Linked DNA regions of Homo sapiens: region 1 is linked to region 2. The links are contacts of gene promoters, found by promoter capture Hi-C in blood cells and fetal thymus (Javierre and others, 2016). All regions are on one chromosome and are shown on one strand. The core of a region is centred on a gene start or on the middle of the fragment in contact, and the rest is flanking DNA. Distances in the headings are between cores, read along the strand shown.

Region 1 (6,962 bases), core at 1,548-4,047, 2.3 Mb after region 2:
TGTACACAGTAGTGTATAGACAGCCCCATGGCGGCCCCACTGGGTGTGGACGGCCCGTCCCTGCATACAGTAGTGTATAGACAGCCCCATGGCGGCCCCACTGGGTGTGGACGGCCCGTCCCTGCATACAGTAGTGTATAGACAGCCCCATGGCGGCCCCACTGGGTGTGGACGGCCCGTCCCTGCATACAGTAGTGTATAGACAGCCCCATGGCGGCCCCACTGTGGACGGCCCGTCCCTGTATACAGTAGTGTATAGACAGCCCCATGGCGGCCCCACTGTGGACGGCCCGTCCCTGTACACAGTAGTGTATAGACAGCCCCATGGTGGCCCCACTGGGTGTGGACGGCCCGTCCCTGTACACAGTAGTGTATAGACAGCCCCATGGTGGCCCCACTGGGTGTGGATGGCCCGTCCCTGCATACAGTAGTGTATAGACAGCCCCATGGCGGCCCCACTGGGTGTGGACGGCCCGTCCCTGCATACAGTAGTGTATAGACAGCCCCATGGCGGCCCCACTGGGTGTGGACGGCCCGTCCCTGCATACAGTAGTGTATAGACAGCCCCATGGCGGCCCCACTGTGGACGGCCCGTCCCTGTACACGGTAGTGGATGGCCCCATGGGGGCTCTGTCGAGTGTGGACAGCCCTGTCCCTCCCCCATCCGGTGTAGACAGCCCTGTGGCTGCACTGGGGGCGGGTGGTGCGGGTTCTGCATCGGGACAGGACGCAAGGGCTCCAGGGGGGCAGTGGGACTGCATCCAGAGGTGGTTCGAGGGCTCCAGGTCAGAGTCTAAATCTCTGCCTATGTGTGCACTTCAGGATTTTGAGGCTGTTTTCCAAAAGTCTTTTTTTTTTTTTTTTCCTTTTTGAGACGAAGTCTCGCTCTTGTCCCCCAGGCTGCAGTGCAGTGGCGCAATCTCGGCTCACTGCAACCTCTGCCTTCTGAGTTCAAGCGATTCTTCTCCCTCAGCCTCCCAAGTAGCTGGGATGACAGGCACCCGCCACCATGCCCAGCTAATTTTGTATTTTTAGTAGAGACAGGGTTTCACCATGTTGGCCTGGCTGGTCTCGAACTCCTGACCTCATGATCTGCCTGCCTTGACCTCCCAAAGTGCTGGGATTACAGGCATGAGCCACTGTGCCTGGCTGTGTTCCAAAAGTCTTGTACGGAAAGAGGAAACCTGGCAGTAAAGTCCACAGGGGTGTGTGTCACCCGCCGTGGCAGGACAGGGCGTGTGTCACCTGGCGTGGCAGGACAGGGCATGTTGCCTGAGTGTGAGGATCGCGCCCGTTGGCTCGCTTCCCCCGCATTTTGGGTTTGATCTTTGACTTTCGGAGGGAGATCACAGGAGGTTGGCTCCCAATCTGGTTCCCCTAGCTGCGTTTGGGAGGCCGTCCGTGTGTAGTGCTGATATGAACTGAAGGGGCGGCACCTCTGCCCTGTGAGTTTGCGCCCCACATCGTGGGTGACTGGGCGGCACCTCTGTCCTGTGAGTTTGCGCCCCGCATCGTGGGTGACGGGACGGCACCTCTGCCCTGTGAGTTTGTGCCCCACATCATGGGTTACTGGGCCGCACCTCTGCCCTGTGAGTTTGCATCCTGCATCGTGGGTGACTGGGCGGCACCTCTGCCCTGTGAGTTTGCATCCTGCATCGTGGGTGACTGGGCAGCACCTCTGCCCTGTGAGTTTGCGCCCCGCATCGTGGGTGACTGGGCGGCACCTCTGCCCTGTGAGTTTGCGCCCCGCATCGTGGGTTACTGGGTGCACTTGTTTAAATCGTCTCCTGGTGGTTTGAGCACATTCCCTCTGGTGCTGTCTTAAAGCTTCCCTTTGGAGACTTACCGGGGGTCAGAGGCCGACTTCTGAATCCTCAAGGACAGTAAGGAAGTGAGAAGGATGGAGGGATCCGAGGATGGCTGGAGAAGGGAAGGAGGTGGAAGAGAAGGAAGTGGAGAGGGGCGTACCCCTAAGAAGAGTTGGAAGGGGCCTTGCGGGTGGGGGGCTGTGGTGGGCGTCAGAGGTGGTGTGGAAGGTTGCAGGAGAAGAAAAGGCCAGTCTGAGATGGCTGCAGACTTCTGGTTCCAAGTCTAGGACACTCGGAAAAAGGAAAACGATGGAGACAGGAAACAGATCGGGGCTTGCGGGGGTTGGGTGCGTCAGTGCCACACAGACGTTTTTCAGGGCAGGGAAACTCCTCTGCGTGACCCCACAGTGGTAGATCCGTGTCATCCTGCGTTTTTCCAGACTCAACAGAGCGTGCGGCAGCGGGAGAGCCCAGTGCACGCTGTTGACTCGGGGTGATAGTGACCCGTCCAAGGAGGTTTATTGACTGTAACAGATGCAGGCGGTCACGCAGGACCTTCCTGATCGGGGACCCGGGAGGCTTTCTGCTGACAGCGTTCAGCCTGGCAGGGATGTGGCCAGTTTCTGACCCTCAGCCCGAAGGTATCCTGTCTCCTTCCCGGTGGGATCGAGGTGCAGGCCCCCGGAATGTCAGCTCACCCTCATTTAAAGTTGCCCGTCCCCCTTTTCCACCGCCCCTCTTTTCTTGTTCTAAATACGATTGCAAACAAGCGCAGTTATCACAGTGAGCAGTGGCAGAGAAGACGAGATCCTGGATGCCCACTGCAGCTTAGCTGTATTCTAGAAACTCCTGAAGTTTGGGGAGGGGCGGAGATGCCGGCGCGCTTTGATGCCGGGCTGCCGGGATGTCTGGGCTGCCGTGCGTGTTTGTGGAGGCGCAGCTGCACCTGGCGTGCCCTGTGCTCTGGAGGGGCAAGCCGGAGTCGGCACCGAGCCTGCAGCCAGCTCTGGTGTTGTCGTGGAGGGGGGGGACCTCACTTCTCGCGGGGAGCGCCTTCGCCTGGGTCCCCGAGGCCGTCCCCAGGCTCTCTTCTCGGGGACCTGTTGATGCGCGTTCCGCCCAGGCTCTCCTCTCGGGGACCTGTTGATGCGCGTTCCGCCCAGGCTCTCCTCTCGGGGACCTGTTGATGCGCGCTCCAGGGCGAGCCACGTGACGGCTGCCGCGGTGCAGAAAGCGCCCCCTTGCCCGGCCGGACGGCCCAGCCCGGAGCGAACGGGGAGAGGAGAGAAGAGGACCGGAGGGAGCGGAGGGCAGTGCAGGGAGCGGAGAAGGAGGAGAGGAGAGCAGCGCCGGGAGCAGCCGGGTCTGCACAGTCGCGGGTCGGGAGAGGCGGCCGCCCCCACCCCCGGCGCCATGCGCCCTCCTCAGCCTGAGGAATGCGCGCGGCGCGGGCCCCGGCCCCAGAGCGCCTGGCGGGCGACGCATGGAGCGCGCTGAGCCCGGGCCACGCCTGCAGCGCCCCGCCGGCCCCGGCCCGGCCCTGCCCCGAGAGCGCGGCGCCCGGCCCGGCCCGCGGAGAGCCCTGCGCGCCGGCGGCATGCGACTCCGCGAGCGCTCGCTGCGCCAGGACCCCGACCTGCGCCAGGAGCTGGCCTCACTGGCCCGCGGCTGCGACTTCGTGCTGCCCTCTCGGTTCAAGAAGCGGCTGAAGGCCTTCCAGCAGGTCAGCCCCGCGCGCCCCGCGGCTGCCCGACACCGGGCGAGGCCTCCCGGCCCGGCGAGCCCTGCCCTCCCGGCCCCGCGTGGGCCCCCGCTCGCCGCTGCTGGCCGTGCACCCGTTGTTGCGTGGCGGGGCCCAAACGCCAGATTTACAGGGCCAGTTGTGGGCGCAGGGGACCCGCTCGGGCCGCACGCCGCCGAAAACCGGGTGCTGCTCTGTGGGAAGCGGTGCCAAGCTTGTTAGGAAAACCGGGCTTTGAAAAGAGCACTCGCTCCTTTCCCGGGAGTTTTGGCTGTGAGTGCGCGCCTTGCTGTGATCAACCAAGGCGGGTGAGAGCCGTCAGCGCCTGGGAGTGTTCGCTGCAGACAGATTTTTAATTTAAATATACCTTGCATTGCTGGTAATAAACATCGGGAAACTCCTTCACCCTTCGTAAAGGCGTCGGGTGGGTGAAACTTTCCCGGCGTTATTGCAATACCCAGCATTCCTTCCCACTGGCTAACTTAAGAGTCGGTTGAGATATCACTCACATACCGGACTATTTATGCAGCGTGGTTTTATTCAGTAACTCAGTGGCTTTGAAATTTATTTATTTATATTTATTTATTTGAGACGAAGCCTCTCTGTTTCCCAGGCTGGAGTGCAGCGGCGCTATCTCGGCTCACTGCAACCTCCACCTCCTGGGTTCAAGTGATTTTCCTGCTTCAGCCTCCCGAGTAGGGCTAATTTTTGCATTTTTAGTAGGGACGGGGTTTCACCATGTTGGCCAGGCTGGTCTTGAACTCCTGACCTCAGGTGATCGCCCACCTGGGCCTTCCAAAGTGCTGGGAGTAGGGGCGTGAGCCTCCACCCCAGCTGGCTTTGAAATTTAATCTCAGTTCTCATAAGTGCTCAGGGAAGTAAAATTTGTGTCTGTACCCCGTGTATATTGTATGAGTTAGTTTTACGAGTACCATGTGATTTAAACGTGTAAGAGTCTTCCTGTGACAATCCCAGTATAATTTGAGAATTTAGGGTTTGGCTGCGGCCGAATCTGATCCGAATTTCATCCAGACAGGGTGTGCGTGGCGGGCGCCTCACACCCACGTGGCACATCAGACGCGCTTTTCAAACTCAGTTCCAGGAGTCTGGAACTAGTGGCCTAACATCAAGGTGAACCAAGGCATCCTGCTTGAAGGGGGAGGAAGACCCACTTCTTTCTGTTGATATTTTAATTGAAATTTTTTCTGTAAGATCTCACATCAACTTTTGCACTCCTTCGGAGTTTTTGACCTCTGTCTTCCAGGTTTTGACATTTTGCCTGTAAGTGGGTAAGGGCGAGGCTGGTGTCTTTAAAATCCTCTTAACCTGCGAAGAGCGAGATCAGCCTCGTGCGGGATTTGCTCTAGATGGTGGGAGGTGCTGGGCGGTGCGGGCTCGCTGGTCGCAGAGTCAATGAGGTGATTAGCTCGCACGTGGCTGGATGAGGAAGCCCTTCAGCCCTGCAGTGGGGCCCTGGCTCTTCTGTGGGGGGCTGTGGTGACGATGCACCTGTGAGGACTGTTTATTTTTAAAAAGTCAGTTTCTGGGAAATCATGAATTCCGTTTACAGAAGTTTGCTTCATTTTACAGAAAATAGGTTTCCACGTTTTTAGGGAGTGAGGACAGACGTGTGAAATGCATGTTGTCTGAGGGGTGGTGGAGGAATTACAGGCATATTTGGGGGTATTTGTGGGGGTGGTGTTGGGGGAGAAGGGGACGTTTCCTGGCTGCTTTCACTCCGCGCATGAGTGTGGGCTCTGTCTGTTGGGTCCACCCCACTTGGACACACCCTCAGGGTTGTCAGGGAGCACCCGTGTTGGAGCCACTGGACGTGTTGGGGTGCCGCACCTCCGCCTTCGGACGCTCCCGGCCGGGCAGCACGGTACTGTTTTCAGGGGTCCTCTGACGGGCACAGCCTTCCACGGCCAACGTTGGCCGCACCCACGAGCCCCTGGCGGGTGCTCCTGAGCTTGATCTTCTGACTGTGCGACGTCCCACCTGGGCTTCTGTTCCCACTAACCCCCTGGCGGGTGCTGCCTGCCCCGATGGTGAACCCAAGCTCCTCCTCCTCCCTGCCACTGCCCACTTCCCTGTCACCGGCATCCTTGACAAACCAAACTCGGGGGGTGGGGGCGTTCAGCGACCGCCGGCCTTGGGAACGGAACAGCATGCGTTCACGCCGTGGGTCCGGGGAGGCTCCCGTGTGACGATGGCGTGTTACACGTACTCTCACCGTGGGTCCGGGGAGGCTCCCGTGTGACGATGGCGTGTTACACGGCTCATGCTCTCACTGTAGGACCCAGCATGTACCTGGAGTGGGGCCGTGCAGCTGCTTGGCTGAGCTCTTCTTGCCGGAGCCACTGCCTGCGCCTCCTGCCCAGGGATTCTCGGGCCTTCTGTCCCCGGGCAACAGCAGGACAGCTCAGACCTTGTTCCCAGCCCAGGACAGCTGTGCTGCCTAGCCTGGCCCTCCCCGCCTGGGGAGTGACTCTCCCGCTCCCCACACACTGACTCAGCACACAGACGCCCCTCTTCACCTGTCCTGGTCACACAGACACTGTCCGGCGTCCCCACGGGGTCCTTCGGGTGGACGCACAGACCCTACACGGCACCACGCATGGCTGAAAGCGCCGTCCCCTACGCGGCAGCCCCGCTGTACTTGGAACTGACTTCAGCGTGGTGACAGCCTGGGCTCTGGGCGTCCCTGACGCACCTCCTGCTCTCACCGCCAGGGCACGTGCCGTTCCCCTCCCAAGGCCAGTGGTCACCAAAACCCTTGCAGCCTTTGGTTTGGCCAGGACGCTGCCCAGGATGCCACTCCCTGGGCAGTGGCAGGGAGAAGGCAGGGCTTGGGTTCCCCACCTGGCAGGGAGCTGCAGCAAGGGGGGTTAACGGGAAACAGAAGCCCGGGTGGGAACGTCCACACAGAAGACCAAGCTCAGGAGCATCCGCCAGGGGCTTGTGGACGCAGGGAGGGTGCCGGATCCTCCCCTCGCTGTGTTGCGCGGCATCCACCGTCACCCCTTGGCTGGTGGACAGAATGATCCCCACGTCCCCCAGCCCAGCCTTCCGAGCTCTGTGGAGACTCACGCCTCGCTGCAGCCGTGGCTGCAGGCGCCAGTGCCTGGGCTGCAGGTGTGGGTGCAGGCCCCAGCCGACGTCTCTCAGCGTCCGTTGAGGCCCGGTTGCTCGGCTGCAGTCATGTGTCTGAGTGAATGTTAGCCCACGTGAGCTCTGGCCTACTCAGACACCTGCACCTGCTGCGTTTCTGTGTTGACCCCTCCACACCAGTTCTCCCTCTTTGCTAGAGAGGGGATTTTTAAACCCACACGTGGGGCCTCTCATCTCCGTGTTCGGCTCCTCTGTGTAAACACCGACCTTTTTGACTCCTGTGTTTAGCCGTCCAGCGTGCG
Region 2 (7,260 bases), core at 2,971-5,470:
GCTTGAGCCCAGGAGGTGGAGGCTGTAGTGAGCCCTGATTGCACCCCTGCACTCCAGTCTGGGCAACAGAGACCCCACCTCAAAAAAATATTTTTCAGCCTGGTCAACATAGTGAAACCCCTTCTCTACTAAACATACAAAAATTAGCCAGATATGCAGTGCATGCCTGTAGTCCCAGCTAATTGGGAGGCTGAGGCAGGAGAACTGCTTGAACCTGAGATGGAGAGATTGCCATGAGCTGAGATCGTGCCACTTCACTCCAGCCTGGACAACAGAGGAAAATTCCATCTCAAAAAAAAAAGACTTTTCCTCCTTCGCACCCCGAGAGACACACAGGTCTTATTTCTTACTGTGTCTATAAATCACAAAGGACACGTAATTCTTTTCCCCTAAAGTAACAAGAGTGCTCAGAACATTTTCAGCAGGACTGAAAACCAGCACAAGGTCCACGTGGCTACTGAGAAGTCTATTTCCCCGGGGGAAGATATCTGAGTCCGAAAACATTCCAGACAGTATCCATGAAATCCCGCCATGATTCCTAAATGCTGAATTGGGAAAAGTATTGTATGAGCTGCATTTCTTTCTAAATGACAGCATGTACCCACCATAGGACCTTCAGGAAGAAAAATGATTTCCAGACAAACAATCATTTACTTGAGTATCTCCAAAGTGTAAAGACATGTATTTGTCTTTACATGAAAACTCTGTCTCATACACAGAGAAAGGAGAAAGAGCTAAAGCAGGAAGTTTTTTTTTTTCTTTGAGACTGAGTCTCTCTCTGTTACCCAGGCCATAATGCGGTGACACGATCTCAGCTCACTGCAACCTCTGCTTCCCGGGCTGAAGTGATTTTCCTGCCTCAGCCTCCTGAGTAGCTGGGATTATAGGCGCTCACCACCACGCCCGGCTAATTTTTGTATTTTTAGTAGAGTCGGGGTTTTGCCATGTTGGCCAGGCTGGTCTCGAACTCTTGGCCTCATGTGACCCACCGGCCCTCGGCCTCTCAAAGTGCTGGGATTTACAGGCCTGAGTCACCGTGCTCGGCCTAAAGTAGGGAGTTAAATGCAAAGCAATCAACTTTTACCAGAGCCAAACGCGCTGATGGAAAATCAAGGCAAACTCGCTGGATGATAAAACCCACTTCCTCTGCCCAGAAACATTCTCCTAATAACTTCCACACACACCCACAGGGGCAGGAGACAAGAGCTCTGGAGAGAGTTAAAAAAAAAAAAAAACAACGAAGCCCACACTTGCTCTACTGGGGCGAGGGAATCCTGAAGAGGCCTGGTATTGTTCAAGAGATGTCGGTTCCGTAGATGTTTGGAGTTTTTCAAACCGCACAGGCCGCTGTGCCGTTGCCCCGGGGGGTGGGGCAAATCAGCCTTTGCCAGAGAGCAGGGATGCATCGGATGTGTGCGACTCTACTGTCGGGACGGCAGGCTCCTAACTGCAGGGGCAGCCCTGAATCAGCGCATACATGCAACTCCCAAGCCCTCCTCAGGGTTTTCCACCCTCAACACCACTGGCATTTGGGACCAGATGAATTCTTTGTGCTGGAGGCCGTCCTGGCCCTTGAAAGATTCTGAGCAGCTTCCCTAAGCTGCCCCACCCATTGCAGGATGGTGGGATGTCCCACCCCAGGGTGGCAACCAAAAATGTCTGCAACCATCACAAAGTGTCTCCTCGGGGCCAACGTCGCCCTGTGGGGACATCCTGCTCTCTACAAAGCTGAAGCCTCCTCTTTTCCTCTATACACCTCCCTCTGTCCATCCATCCCTCACCACATCCCACCTGTACCCCTGAGAATTTATGAAGGAACCAAGGAACACAGGGTCCCCAACACTCTGAGATCAGGCCAGAGCTATCAGCACCAGTCTGAGAACCTACTTCAGGCTCAACGGGGTTTTGCAGCCTGATGCACGTTGCTATAAGAAAGTGTGTTCTGAGCATCACCAACTCAAAAGTCAACTTTCCCGATGAAACGTGTATTAATATTATTGGGACAGGCTGTTTCTGTCTCCATCTCTAGCAGGGTCAGACTGCAAAGAAGGGGTGAGAAGCGTCCCTCAAGGAGATCCATCAGTGCTGACGGCCAGGCCCTCCTCTGCAATTGGAAGGATAGGTTGGCCCCTGTTATGCCCCTATCCCACTGCTCTTCCCTACCCACCCACCCCATAGACAGGTACTCTTCCCTTTACTCAAAGCATCAGCAGCTGGAGTTCCTAAGCCCAGTCTGCTTCCAAAATCAGGAGTTCCAGATGAACACTGCTGTGGGTTTAAAAACTGTGCAACGCCAATGAGCCGACATCGTGCCACTACACTCCAGACTGGTGACAGAGTGAAACTCCGTCCAAAAAAAAAAAACCACCACCACCAACAAAAACAAAAAAACTGTGCAACGACTTGTTTGGGGCTTAGAGAATATAAGGCTTTCCACTCACTCTGCTCCAATGACCTGGAACGCCAGACCAGCCGGCAAATCTGTCCCTAGGGCTTCAAAATCCAGCCAAGCCCCTCACCAAGATTTACCACTGGGAACCCCTGAGTTATTTCGTGATGGAACTATAAAGGTCCCTGTGGCCCTGTCTCCCGTCTGCCTGTTCAGATGCCTCTGTTCTCCAGGAAACTGAATTCTTAGGCCACCAGCACTCCCTTGGATATATTTCCCTGACCCCAAGCCCACAGTAGGTGCAAAAGAAGGAAGGCAGGCATGAAGGATGAAGGAATGCATTCGCAGAGAGACAAGTGAAAAACCCGTTCATCTGCAGGTGCCTGGGGAACAAATGCAGCTGATAAAACCCTACAGAGCCATCCCGTCCGTGGTGACAGGTTGCCCGCAAGAAGGACATTTAGGAAGAAAAGGGAGAAACAGGAAGCTCTGCTTGGAACCTCCCCTGCAGGCTGGAAAGTCCTCCAAGTTTTCCTCTACGGAGCAGGCTTCATTATCTCTAATCTCTACCAAGTGAAAGCACAATTTCTAGGATACCCGGGACCCCTTTAAAGAGGGTGTAAATCCATTAGCAACTCCTCCCTAAAAATAGAGACCCGGCCTAGTCACCGCAGCTCTAGGCTGAGCTAGATCCTATCAACACAAATCGGGCCTCCTCCGTCCTCCCCAGGGCCGGGCGTTCCCGCGTCTCCTTCCTAAATACGTCCAGCCCTGATAAGGCCCGTCCTGAAGTCCACACTGCCCGCAAGCCGGTCTACTTAAAAGCCTGCCCATACGAAGAGCAAAAAATGCACTGACCATTGAAAAAAGAATTTATAACATGAAAAAAGAATTTATAACATACCACATCCGGCAGGGTCTCCGTTTCCGTTTCAAAGGGAGGGAAACAGAAAAACATGATTAAAGTAATAATTAGAAATAGGCCCGGTTTAGGGCGTGGGAGGGTGACCGTGGCTCTTTCTTCCCTGCCCACTTTTTCTGTTTTCCGAATTCTCCACCGCCGCAGATGGACAATTTGGTAAGCACACGTTTCTTTCTGCGCCCCGTGTTGCTTGGCGCACAGCACGCGCTGAAATTCCCGGAGCCCGCATCCACAGAGTATTTTTGAACATTTTCAGGGCTCAAAGTTTTTTTCTAACTTTTCCTTCCCTTCCCCCCACCACCCGGGTCTCAGGCTCCTAGCGATTCCAAATTTAGGCCCGGGACGCAGGGCGTGGCTGTGACAGGCAACTCCAGGGCGGCCTCCGCGCGCGGCCTGAAGACGCAGGTCCCCAAACCCTGGGGGTAGATAACGGGGTGGGGTGAGGGGCTCATGCAAAGGGAGAGAGATCTGTAAGAAGGTCCCCTAGATTGGGAAAAATCGGACGCACCTCTCCCAAGGCCGCCCCACATGTAAGAGTTTGCAACTCCGACAACAAACGCTGACTTTTCTCTCTGGAACGGCTCCAGGAAAAGCGTTGGGGAGAAAGTGGGCGCCTCCTCCGGGCCTGGGCCCCCGTGGGCACAGCGCGTCCTGCCGGGCAGGGAGGAGGCTCCGGGTGTCCCCGCGGGGCGCCCCCAACGCCGCATCTCAAGCGGATCCCCAGTCCCGGCCCGCGCCCTCCGCGTCCCCCAACCCGGATCCCTCCGCTCGCTCACCCGGGGCGGCGACCAGAACACCCAGCAGGCCGAAGAGCAGCAGCGCCAGCGCAGCCCCGCGGGCCATGGTGCGCCCAGAGCGCGCAGGGACGGTCCCGGAGTGCAGGGCGTGGGCGAAGGCGGCAGGACAGATACTCCCCCACGGGCCGGGTGGGGCGAAGCCCGGGGACTCGAAGGGGGCGGGTGAGGGGAGCGGCCCTGCAAGCTCAGCGCCGGCTGCGCCCGCCCCGCCCCGGCCTCCACGCGCGCACAGAAGGGGCGGGAACGCCGGGCCCGGGGAGGAGACAGAGGGGGTAGGCGGGCGGGGGTGGCCCAGGCAGCGCCGAGGGGAGTACGGTACACGCCCCGCCCCTTCTCAGGAAACTGCCCACGCCCCCTCACCCACCCACAGGGCCGTAGCCAGGGCGGCGCCGACCCGAAGCAAAGTGAACTACAACGTTCTCGGGAAAGTGCGGGTCCCTCCCGGTTTACAGCCCTCTGAATGCACGCCCGAGGGCGGCCCTTAACTGTAGTGGCACAAAACTGCCGCCCTTCTTGGAAACATAGAGCCCCCTCTCCCCACTCGCCCCTGCAGCCACTTCTCCGCCCCTCACCCCCTGGTCTCCAGTGGGAGCAAAAAAACAAACTTTCCCAGCAGCTCCCCTGCTCGGGAAAGTGCGGGTCCCTCCCTGTCTACAGCCTCCTAAATGCACGCCTGCAACTGTAGCGACACGAAACTGCCGCCCTTCTTGGAAACGTGTAGCCCCCCTCCCCACTCGCCCCTGCAGCCCCTTCTCCGCCCCTAGCAGGGACCCTCCCCTGCTCTGCAGTGGGAGCAGAGGAAACTCCCGGCTCCCCTGCTGGGAAAAGTATGGGGGCCCCTCCCCGCTGCTCACCTCAGGGAGTTCCCCAAGGGGAGCAAAGTGCAATCCTCTCCCTGCTCAGGAAGCCTAGGCCCCCGCTCCACAGGCAACCCCCGTCCCAAGTCCTTTCTAGAGCGTCCGAGCGCGGGGTGCGCAGCCGGGAGGGTGGCGGACGAACCCTTTGCGCCGGACCAAGGACAACCCTTGGAGTAGCCTCTGCGCTGGGGCAGTTTCTCCCCAGAATCCCCAGGACAAGGTTGGGAGTGGGGACTCCTGGTCACGGGAGTTAGTGAGGGGCAATAGGGAACGAGGTGCCTTCTATCTGGGGCACCTGGGCCCTAGTCCTGGTCATGGGCGACTCGCCTTCCAGTGGGCTTTGAGTTTAGACACCCTCCCGCGCCACTGGCCACAGCTGCAGTGCAGTTGTCGCCCTTCCCACACTTAACAATGTTATCTGTTAACACCTAAGCCTAAAATTGTATCCATTTTCCCGCAGGGTAGTGGAACAACTTTGCAGCCTGACAAATAACCCTGAATATTCTTGCATTCCACACTTCAAACTGTCCACGAAAAGAGTCAAACTAGGCCGGGCGCGGTGGCTCACGCCTGGAATCCCAGCGCTTTGGGAGACCGAGGCGGGTGGATCACCTGAGGTCAGGAATTGGAGACCAGCCTGACCAACAAGGTGAAACCCTGTCTCTTCTAAAATACAAAATTAGACGCGTGTGGTGGTGTGCACCTGTAGTCCCAGCTACTCAGGAGGCCGAGGCAAGAGAATCGCTTGAACCGGGGAGATGGAGGTTGCAGTGAGCCAAGATCAGGCCACTGCACTCCAGCCTGGGTGACAGAGCGAGACTCCGTCTCAAAAAAAAAGAAAGAAAAAAGAAAAAAAGAGAAAGGAGTCCAACTCTAACATATTTGAAGAGATTTATTCTGAGCCAAATATGAGTGACCATGGCCCATGACACAGCCCTCAGGAGGTCCCGAGAACGTGTCCTCAAGGTGGTCGGGGTGCAGCTTGGTGTTATACGTTTTAGGGAGGCATGAGACATCAATGAAATTTAAGAGACACATTGGTTTTGTCCAGAAAGGCGGGACAACCCAAAGCAGGAGGCTTCCAGCTTATAGGTAGATTTTAGAATTTTCTGATTGGCAATTGCTTGGGTTTCTTTAAAGTCCTGGGATCAATAGAAAAGAATGTCTGGGTTAAGATAAAGAATTGTGAAGACTCAAGTTCTTATTTGAACAGGAACCCTTCCGGTGCTAGGGTCAGAGAGAAGAGGTTGTAAAATGTTTCTTCTCAAACTTAAAGGCTGTGTGGATGTTAACGCCGGAGAGGCACCGGGAGGCATGTTCAACCCCTGCTTCCCGTCACGGCTTGAAACACTCTCTCAGGTTAAATTTTTAAAGAGCTCTGGCTGAGGAAGAAGTCCATTCAGATGTTTTGAAGGTGGGGGGCGGTGGGGGCTTAGAATTTTATTTTATTTTATTAATTTATTTAGTTTTTGAGACGGAGTCTTACTCTCTCGGCCAGGCTAGAGTGCTGTGGCACCATCTCAACTAACTGCAACCTCCACCTCCCAGGTTCAAACGATTCTCCTGCCTCAGCCTCCTGAGTAGCTGGGATTACAGGCACCTGCTACCACGCCTGGCTAATTTTTATATTTTTAGTAGAGATGGGGTTTCGCCATGTTGGCCAGGCTAGTCTGGAACTCCTGACCTCAAGTGATCCACCCACTCCAGCCTCTTAAAGAATTTTATTTTTGGTTTACAAAGCCCTGCCTCATCTATTGGCCCATTCCTGGGCTGGCATACTTGCTGCCCAGCCGACTGAGTCAGGGGCTCTGAGATAACACCTGTCTTTTTATTATTGTTATTATTATACTTTAAGTTCTGGGGTACAGGCTGGGCGCGGTGGCTCACGCCTGTAATCCCAGCACTTTGGAAGGCCGAGGCAGGTGGATCACGAGGTCAGGAGATTGAGACCATCCTGGCTAACATGGTGAAACCCCATCTCTACTAAAAATACAAAAAAAAATTAGCCGGGCGTGGTGGCGGGCGCCTGTAGTCCCAGCTACTCAGGAGACTGAGGCAGAAGAATGGCGTGAACCCGGGAGGCAGAGCTTGCAGTGAGCCGAGATCGTGGCACTGCACTCCAGCCTGGGCGACTGAGCAAGACTCCGTCTCAAAAAAAAAAAAAAAAAGTTCTGGGGTACATGTGCAGAACGTGCAGTTTTGTTACATAGGTATACACACGCCATAGTGGTTTGCTGCACCCATCAACCCATCATCTACATTAGGTATTTCTCCTAATGCTCTCTCTCCCATTGC

What was found. The method cuts DNA at HindIII sites, captures the fragments that hold promoters and counts their contacts. A CHiCAGO score of 5 or more calls a contact.
Region 1: a contact is called between a fragment that was not itself captured here and the fragment with the promoter of CD99 in region 2, in 1 of 17 cell types (fetal thymus). The highest score is 5.9, in fetal thymus.

What each region holds. Positions count from the first base shown.
Region 1 is chrX:370,101-377,062 of GRCh38, reverse strand. All of the region lies in intron 1 of PPP2R3B (protein phosphatase 2 regulatory subunit B''beta), which reads left to right. Among named protein-coding and RNA genes, the nearest start is that of PPP2R3B, 13 kb to the left of the region's middle. RefSeq lists an enhancer at 1,023-1,913 and a silencer at 3,908-4,090. The HindIII fragment of the contact is 1,936 bases long and covers 1,830-3,765 here.
Region 2 is chrX:2,688,255-2,695,514 of GRCh38, reverse strand. It overlaps CD99 (CD99 molecule (Xg blood group)), which reads right to left and starts at 4,220. Exons shown (of 10, transcript NM_002414.5): 1 at 4,088-4,220. The coding sequence starts at 4,154. The HindIII fragment of the contact is 9,076 bases long and covers 1-7,260 here.